Regions from separate parts of the Homo sapiens genome. Here region 1 is linked to region 2. The links are contacts of gene promoters, found by promoter capture Hi-C in human tissues and cell types (Jung and others, 2019). All regions are on one chromosome and are shown on one strand. Each heading gives the region's core, a stretch centred on a gene start or on the middle of the fragment in contact. The rest is flanking DNA. Distances are from core to core; before and after follow the strand shown.

The links. Contacts are between HindIII fragments. The study calls those that stand out against the background at their distance.
Region 1: a fragment that was not itself captured here is called in contact with the fragment with the promoter of NACA in region 2 in 1 of the 25 tissues and cell types used here (aorta).

What each region holds. Positions count from the first base shown.
Region 1 is chr12:56,563,027-56,567,501 of GRCh38, forward strand. The region is part of intron 2 of RBMS2 (RNA binding motif single stranded interacting protein 2); the gene reads left to right. Among named protein-coding and RNA genes, the nearest start is that of RBMS2, 43 kb to the left of the region's middle. RefSeq lists enhancers at 2,317-2,855, 2,856-3,393 and a silencer at 2,977-3,026. The HindIII fragment of the contact is 6,603 bases long and covers 1-4,475 here.
Region 2 is chr12:56,723,597-56,728,303 of GRCh38, forward strand. NACA (nascent polypeptide associated complex subunit alpha) reads right to left here and starts at 1,703. Exons shown (of 9, transcript NM_001365896.1): 1 at 1,667-1,703; 2 at 856-927. The coding sequence starts at 925. RefSeq lists enhancers at 330-449, 1,509-1,558, 1,649-1,778. The HindIII fragment of the contact is 10,398 bases long and covers 1,510-4,707 here.

The DNA.
Region 1 (4,475 bases), core at 1,864-4,363, 160 kb before region 2:
GCAGGAGAATGGTGTGAACCCTGGAGGCTGAGCTTGCAGTGAGCCGAGATCATGCCACTGCACTCCAGCCTGGGCAATAGAGTGAGATTCCATCTCAAAAAAATAAAAATAAATAAAAATCTACCTGCTACTGATATATATTATAAAGCCTTTATGTGTTTCTCTAAGGAAAGCCAGTGTGGGACTGGCCTTTAAAGCCTAATATCCAACTTTATTTCCAGCACCTCCCCCAACCTGATGGTCTTAGTGGAAAGACTGCTGTCCTTACACCTTGAATAGAGAAGTTTAATATCTCTATAGATGTTAATTAGAAGGCATGAGAGAGCTGGCAGTGGGGATGGAAGAAAGTGGGACTCGCCAATCAAATCATGCACTTTGGAGACTTTCTGCTGCTGGAGATATTCCTTGGGAATGGAGACCTCAAATTAGCAGATAAAGAAGGTGGAGATAGGAACAATTATTCTGTATCTACCCCATGAAGACCCTTCGGAGTTCTTTTTAGTAGATTTGATTCATGGAATTGCCCAATTAGGAATGTTGGAAAAATGGCAAGAGTGCACAGATGTCCAGCTCAAAAAATAATAAGCAATAAAAAATAAAGTCTGGTGTATATAAAAAACTGGTCCTTGGGCCGGGCGTGGTGGCTCACACCTGTAATCCTAGCACCTTGGGAGACCAAGGCAGAAGGATTGCTTGAGCTCAGGAGTTCAAAACCAGGCTGGGCAACATAGTGAGACCTTGTCTCTATAAAAAATATAGTAAAAATATATATTAAAAAAAATTTTAAAACTGGTCCGTTATCTCAGCTTACCTTGCTAGAAAGGTATGTAAGTGGAATTAAGGGGACTGTCTTGGACTAGTAATTTTTGAGAGGTGGGAATTAGCAGAAATGTTGGTTTTTGAGGGAGCGAAAGAGTATCATACTAATATAGGTCCTTGATTTCTAAATTTTGTTTCTTGTACTAAATATAATGTGCTACAAAAATTCTCTCACATCACAAGACAGAGAAGAATCTTTTTTTTTTAAGACTGAGTCTCAGCCTCCCAAGTAGCTGAGATTATAGGCGCACGCCACCACATCGGGCTAATTTTTGTTTTTTTTTTTGCTAGAGATGGGGTTTTACTGTGTTGTCCAGGCTGGTCTCGAACTCCTGACCAGGTGATCTGCCCACTTCGGCCGCCCAAAGTGCTGGGATTACAGGTGTGAGCCACCGTGCCTCGCTCAGAGAAGAATCTTGATTAGACTACCATATATTCGTTCCTCAGTATCTGGGGGGGATTTGTTCCAGGACCTCCTCTGTCCCCCTGCATGGATACCAAAATTCACTGAGCTCATGTCCCTACGCTTTTTTTTCTTTTTAAGACAGGATCTTGTTCTGTCACCAAGGCTGGAGTGCAGTGGTGTAATCACAACTAACTGTAGCCTCCAGGGCTCAAGCAATCCTCCCACCTCAGCCTCCTGAGTAGCTAGGACTACAGGTACACACCACCATGCTTGGCTAATTTTTTGTAAATTTTGTAGAGATGAGATTTCATCATGTTGCCCAGGCTGGTCTCAAACTTATGCGCTCAATCATTCCTCCTGCCTCGGCCTCCCCAAAAGCTGGGATTACAGGCATGAGCTACTGAGCCTGGCTTCAAGTCCCTTAGATAAAATGGTATAGTGGCCAGGCATGATGGCTCATGCCTGTAATTCCAGCACTTTGGGAGGCCAAGATGGGTGGATCACCTGAGGTCAGGAGTTGGAGACCAGCCTGGCCAACATGGTTAAACCCCGTCTGTACTAAAACTACAAAAATTAGCTGGGTGTGGTGGTGGGCACCTGTAGTCCCAGCTACTCAGGAGGCTGAGGCAGAAGAATCTCTTGAACCCAGAAAGCAGACGTTGCAGTGAGCCGAGATCACGCCACCAGAAAGCAGAGGTTGTAGTGAGCCGAGATCACGCCACTGCACCACAGCCTGGGTGACAGAGCAAGACTTCGTCTCAAAATAATAAAAATAAAATAAAATAAAATGGTGTAGTATTTGCATATAACCTATGCACATGCTCCTATATACTTTAAAATTATCTCCAGATTACTTATGATACCTCAATACAATACAAATGCCATGTAAATAAATGTTATACTGTATTGTTTAGGGAATAATGACAAGAAAAAAGTCTGTATATGTTCAGTACAGATGCAACCATCCTTTCTTTTAAAAAACATTTTAACTTTTATTTTAGGTTAAGGGGTACATGTGCAGGTTTGTTACATAGGTAAACTCGGGACTTGGGTATTTGGTGTATAGATTATTTTGTCACCTGGGTACTAAGCATAGTACCCAACAGTTATTTTTTTAGTTTTTTTTCCCTGAACCTCTCTTAGAAGAAAGACTTTTTTTTTTTTCCTATATATTTTCAATCCATGGCTGGTTCAATCCACAAGTGGGAAACCCACAGATACAGAGGGATTTTTATTTTGCCTTTCTGAACAATTGCCTTATCTTTTGCTGTGTCTGAAGCATAAGTATAGTCAAGGGCAGCATGTAGGATCGAAGTAAGGAGCCCAAAAGGGGACTGTGGAGAGGCAGGAGTGAGGCAGGAATGAAAGAGGTGCCAGAGGAGTCCTGACTAGGAGGCTGAGCAGAGCAGGTGGGTGGAGCCCTCTGTCCGCTGTGAGCAGGGAGTTAAGCCTTTCTAGGAAGGATGTTTCTCATGCGTAGACGGACTTCCTGCCTTTGTCCCAGTTGTCTCTCCCTGGGTTGTAGAGGAAGTAAATATTGCTGGATCCTAAAGTCTGGCATGTGGGAAGGAGAGGCGTGGAGTCTAGGACTGGAACTCCTGTTTCTCGGAGGGGCTCCTTCAAGGAAGCAGCAGCAGTGACCCAGCTGTTGCCAGCTGCAGTGGAAATTCTGAGCTCAAAGTCTCAGCTGCTAGACCACAGCAAGCTCCACCCTGGGGCCTTCATAAGGATAGCAGCACTTGTGTCCTCTGCCCCACAGTCAGACTTCTCATGAGTCCCTCCCCTGCCTCAATTTGGGAATGAATCCAAGTGTGTAGCCTGGAAGGGCTAGGATAGCCACATCCATCCTCACCCTCCTTTTAATGTGTTCTGTTCCCAGCTTTCAGGGCATTGCTTGGCTTATTCTGTCTAATCCTTTGGATCACAGAAGTTCTACTAAAAAAGTCAGTGAGATGCCGCCAAGGAGTGAAAACAAATCAATCATCATATGTTCTTTAGGGATGGAAGGAGAGATGGGAAAATTGCTTGTTTGGGGTATTATTCTCAAATTCATTCCCTGACAACTATTTTCAGTTAGCTCTTGTACTTCTGACTTTGTTAGTGATTTCTGTTCTGTCTCTTTAATATTTTCACCCTCCTGGAGTGGAATGTAGAGGCTTTTTTCTAGTGGAACGCTTCTAATATAATCCCTGATCTGTGATACACTACTACTCAAGTTTTAGAAGTTCCACATGACTCTGCTACCAAAGTATAATTTTCAAAAAGTTGAAAAACACAACTGTTAGGCTGGGCACAGTGCCTCACACCTGTAATCACAGCACTTTGGGAGGCTGAGGCAGGTGGATCACTTGAAGTCAGGAGTTCGAGACCAGCCTGACCAACATGGTGAAACACCATCTCTACTAAAAAATACCAAATTAGCTGGGTGTGGTGGCGCATGCCTGTAATCCCAGCTACTCCAGAGGCTGAGGCAGGAGAATCGCTTGAACCCGGGAGGCGGAGGTTGCAGCGAGCCGAGATCACGCCACTGCACTCCAGCCTGGGCAACAAGAGTGAAACTCTGTTTCAGAAAACAAAAAGAAAACACAACTGTCATGCAAATATAAAATGAATATGTGTCAAAGATTTTTATAACTCATTAATGAGGGAACCAGCAGGATGGCAAAATGAGTTCAAAGAGCATTTGAGGAACTATTTATAGGAAATGAAGAAAGAATGTTGGAATAAGATTGCTACATTAGATAAAAACTGGTTTATGTCCTATAGGATAGTAAAGCCACTAACCTTTGCAATTATTTTATCTACTGCACAGAAATAATTTGCATTTTTACTGGACAAAAATCTATAACTTGGCCAAGTGTGGTGGCTCATGCCTGTAATCCCAGCACTTTGGGAGGCTGAGGCGGGTGGATCACCTGAGGTCAGGAGTTTGAGACCAGCCTGGCCAACATGGTGAAACCTCGTCTCTAGTAAAAATGTAAAACTTAGCTGGGTGTGGTGGCAGGCGCCTGTAATCCCAGCTACTCGGGAGGCTGAGGCAGGAGAATCGCTTGAACCTGGGAGGCGGAGGGTGCAGTGAGCTGAGATCACACCATTGCACTCCAGCCTGGGCAACAACAGCAAAACTCCATCTCAAAAAAAAAAAAAGAAGAGGAAGGAGAAGGAGGAGAAGAGGAAGAGGAAGGAGAGGAAGAAGAAGAAGAAAGAAGAAGAAGGAAGAAGAAGAAGAAGAAAGGATATGCAGCCCTTT
Region 2 (4,707 bases), core at 453-2,952:
CTTTCAACTATAAGCAACTCTACTGTAACTCCAAAAAGGGACAGGAATTGCCCTTAAATAACAAATGAAATTTAAAAAAAACCAAAAAGGTGAGAATGAAAATTACAGCCTGAAGATTTCCTTCATTTAACGCTGCACAACTGACTCAGAAAGGCTATCATTTTAAGAACTTTTCATTACCTCCTCCTAAGTTTTCTACAGAGATATGTTTTAACCAGAATTTAAAATTAGCCTTCACAGTCGTTAATTTCGACGCTGAGGATAAAAGGATTTATTTCAATCCTGGGTTTCACACAATGATGCAGGAACTATTCCAGCACACTAGAAGTATCTCAGCACCACCAACCCATAAACAAGTTATCCGACCTAGGACGACTCTGGGGCCCAGTAGGACACATTTACCACCAGCACACATCTCATCCAGACATGTGATAAAGGCACAATGCCAAGCTCTGCTAACTAAAACCTTGATGCAACTTGCTGGCTGGAGTTTCACAAATGCTCCGGGCTCCTTGGCCTGTGTCATCTAGTTCCAATAGGTAAGAATCACTGAGCCCATTCCCTGCTGAGTTTTCCTATGTGAGGTGGGGGTTCCACAGGAGAGCTTCTTTTGAGGCGACAGGCATAACATAGAAAGCAAGCTAGGGTACTTTTAACGTCCACGAATCTTAAAAATATTATTTTTACTCCAAATCCCTAAAGAAGTATCTCCAGGATAGTAATTTTACGGTCTATCCTCCTTGGTAAAGCTGCAACCCCATCCTCCTAAAAAGTGTATTTCCCCTTGGTCATTTTGCCCACCAAATGGCTTTAGGGTTAATTTTAATTAATGGCAAGGAGGGTAGGGAAACCTACCTGTCTCAGCCTGGGGCTGCGGCAACTCCTGCTCTGTAGCAGGGACGGTTTCTGTGGCTTCGCCGGGCATTTCTGAAGGAAGGGAATAAAAAGGAGGCCTAAATTGATTGGGATACATTCACTTGCCCAACCCGGAGATAAGTATTCTTAAAAACTCCGAGGAGGGCTGTTAGAAAAAAATCGTGAGGGTGTTTGGTGACAACCTTCCCCAAAGCACCTGGGAATAAGAGGTAAATATGATGTGACCCTCACGCCTCTATCAAGGCCAGCAATTCCCACTGCATTCTCAACCCGAGGGAGAGGATCCCGGGCTGGCTCTCGATCATGGGAGACTTCAGACGCTACTGTGAACCCCCTCCACTCCTAATACTCACACTGGCTGGGCTGGGGCCTCCTGGACTACGTTTGCCGACTTTGGGGTACCAGGAGGGGAAAGACGGTGTTTTAAGTCCAACACTTGCTTGTCACAGGGAGAACGGTGTTACAGGTTCTAAGGCTGTGACCCCTTACCCTTTTCTGGATCCTGTGAAGCAGTTCCCAAAACAAGACGCACTCCTCTTCCGCCCTCAACACTGCAACTGCTCCCATCTCTGCAGGCTCGGATTCTGGGCCCGCCCCGCAGCCCTTCTACCCTGCTTTTGCCAGGACACCAACCGCAGACCCCATTTTGTCCGGAGGCCCAGGGGCGAGTAGGAACCCTGTGGCCCAGTAAAGCCTCCAACTCTCCTTAACTCTCAGTCCCCGGGGCGGCTTAGCCCGAAAGAAAGGCGGATGGCTGCGGATAGACAGTAGCGGCACAGAAAGTACTTACTGTGCAGGGAACGCGGAACCAAGATGGCGGCAGAAAGACCGAGCGAGAGCGTGACCCACGCCTGTTGCAGAAGGAAGCCTGGAGCGGAGGGGGTGGGACTAGGATCCGATTCCGGGTCAAGAGCTGCCGGCAGCCACTTCCTTTGACGAGTGACTGTCAGGCCGTTCCCACGGCGGGGGTGGTGACAAGGACTAAAGGGTAAGAATTTAGAACGGGACGCGCAGGCCTAGCAGGAGCTCTCTGCGCGGACCCACGCAGTCCTCAGAACTAAGCAGACTCCGCCCTCCGGTCCGCGAAGTGGCGACTGCGGTATTAAGTCGACCTCGCGATTTCTCAAATAGTGCAGGAAGAAGACATTAAATAGCGAATGCTAGAGACTGCATTCACAACATTGGAGGGTGGAAGTGACTTAGGCTAACCAGTTATTTTTGGAACACACGATGTGAAAACATTTAAAAGCTGCTGGACCCTCTCCCCCCCCATCAACAACAACAAAAAAACCCATTTTAAAACTTGAGAGATGTGATGGGTCACATATAACTTCAGTTCAGATTATAAATTTAATTCGATTTTTCTTGTTCTGTTCAATGACTAGAGAGACTCAAACGATGTCACCAGATGACAGCAACTCATGCGTGTTAAACTCTTCGTAAAACAATGTTAGCTGTACCCCCGCCCCCCCCCCAAAAAAAACACTTCTTGTAACCAAATTCTGTAATTATGTTCCAACCTTGTATGGATAACGTAATCCAGCTAAAAACTCCTCTGTCTCCCTAAATAAATGAAATCGTAACTTCTCTACTTCTGAAGGCTGACTCCATTCTTTGGAGGTTTTCTGGTTGGTCCATCCTCACACTGCCCTTGAATAAACTCTTTAAATAGATTCCGGCCCTTTTGATTGTTTTAGGTTCACGACAATTTAGCCGATGTTGAAATTATAAAGCTGCAGATTCTCCTTCCCAGAAAAAAAGAACATAGGCACATATACAATTCCTTTGCTTGCTATTTTGGGCACTTCTTGGATTTTTTTTTTTTTTTTTTTGAGTCGCTCTGTCGGCCAGGCTAGAGTGCAGTGGCACGATCTCGGCTCACTGCAATCTCCGCCTCCAGGGCTCAAGCAGTTGTCCCGCCTCAGCCTCCCGAGTAGCTGGGATTACAGGTGTGTGCCACCACCCCCGGCTAATTTTTTATTTTTAGTAGAGACGGGTTTCACCATGTTGGCCAGGCTGGTCTTGAACTCCTGACCTCAGGTAATCCGCCTGCCTCGGCCTCCCAAACTACTGGGATTACAGGCGTGAGCCACCATGCCCAGCCTGTTTGTTTTGTTTTTGGGACAGTCTCACTTTTATTGCCCAGGCTGGGGTGCAAAGGCACGATCTCGGCTCACTGCAACCTCCCCTTCCCGGGTCAAGCGATTCTCCTGCCTCAGCCTCCCGGGTAGCTGGGATTACAGGCATGCGCCACCACGCCAGTCTATTTTTTGTATTTTTAGTAGAGACGGGCTTTCTCCATGTTGGCCAGGCTGGTCTCCTCCTGACTTCAGGTGATCCGCCTGCCTCGGCCTCCCAAAGTGCTGGGATTACAGGCGTGAACTACCGCCCCTGGCACTTCTTGGATATTCTAAGCTTATTTATTCTAGGTGTCTGGGACCCCACCTTAAACCATGCTTTGTACAACTGTATTTTTGAAAAGTAGAATGTAAAATCAGTGTTGTGTTAATGAAAAGCCTCCCATATCTTCCCACAGCCCTACAAAAGAACTCAACAAATATTTGCTGTACCTGAATTAGCTAAACCAGTCAACATTTATTTATTTTTTGAGGCGGAGTCTCGCTCTGTCGCCCAGGCTGGAGTGCAGTGGCGCGATCTCGGCTTACTGCAACCTCGGCCTCCCGGGTTCAAGCGATTCTCGTCTCAGCCTCCAGAGTAGCTGGGATTATAGGTACCCGCCTCCCCGCCCGGACTCCTGACCGTAGGTTATCCGCCTGCCTCAGCCTCCCAAAGTGCTGGGATTACAGGTGTGAGCCACTATGCCTGGCCTGATTTAATAGCTTTAAGACGACTGTGGCCACCTTTTTTTTTTTTTTTTTTTTGAGACGGAGTCTCGCTGTCACCCAGGCTGGAGTGCAGTGGCGCGATCTCAGCTTACTGCAACCTCCACCTCCCGGATTCTGGCAATTCTCCTGCCACAAAACTTCTCCTGTTTCACCGTGTTGCCCAGGCTGGTCTCGAACTCCTGAGCTCAGGCAATCCACCCGCTTCGGCCTCCCATAGTGCTAGGATTACAGGTGTGAGCCACCATACCTGGTGTGGCCGCCTTTTAAGGGAAGCAGTGAAAATTTAAAATGCTTTGAAAGCTACTTTAACATTTCTGAAATCCTTAGCGTAGTGAAATGAGGATTAGGATTGGTGAATTAAAATTAAGTGAGATAGTGGGGTTTACCAGGAATGGGAAATTCTGAAATCCTCCTCAAATAGGAGAGGCAATATTGTGGAGTCATTAAAGACAGACTCTGAAATAAGACTCCTTTGTCTAAATCTATTAGGTCAGTTTAGGCAATTAACCTATATATATATTCATGTCAGTTTCCTGATCTGTAAAATGGGAAAAATAGTAGCTGCTTGATAGGATTGTTTGGAAGATTAAATTAGTCTGTGTGTATATATACACACACACACTCACACTCTAATTGGAAGGAAAAAGAAACAGTCTATCTCATAAAATTATCCCATGTAATCTTTACATAAAACTTAAAAAGTTTGTTACTATTAAATTGTAGACATAATCAATTTCTACCTAATAAATACATGATCTGGAAGATTTTCAATGCAGTCCTTTAGTCCATTTACCTTCAGAAGGACCAGAAATAGCCAATTTCCTTAGACAAAAGTACATATTCACAATTTTTCTTTCTTCCCCAGCAAGCCCACTTACTTTTTCCTCTCTCTGTAGTAATGACTAGCCAAGGAAGGATGTATTTTTTTTTCCTTTTTTTTTTTTGAGACAGGGTCTGGCTCTGTTGCCCAGGCTAGAGTACAGTG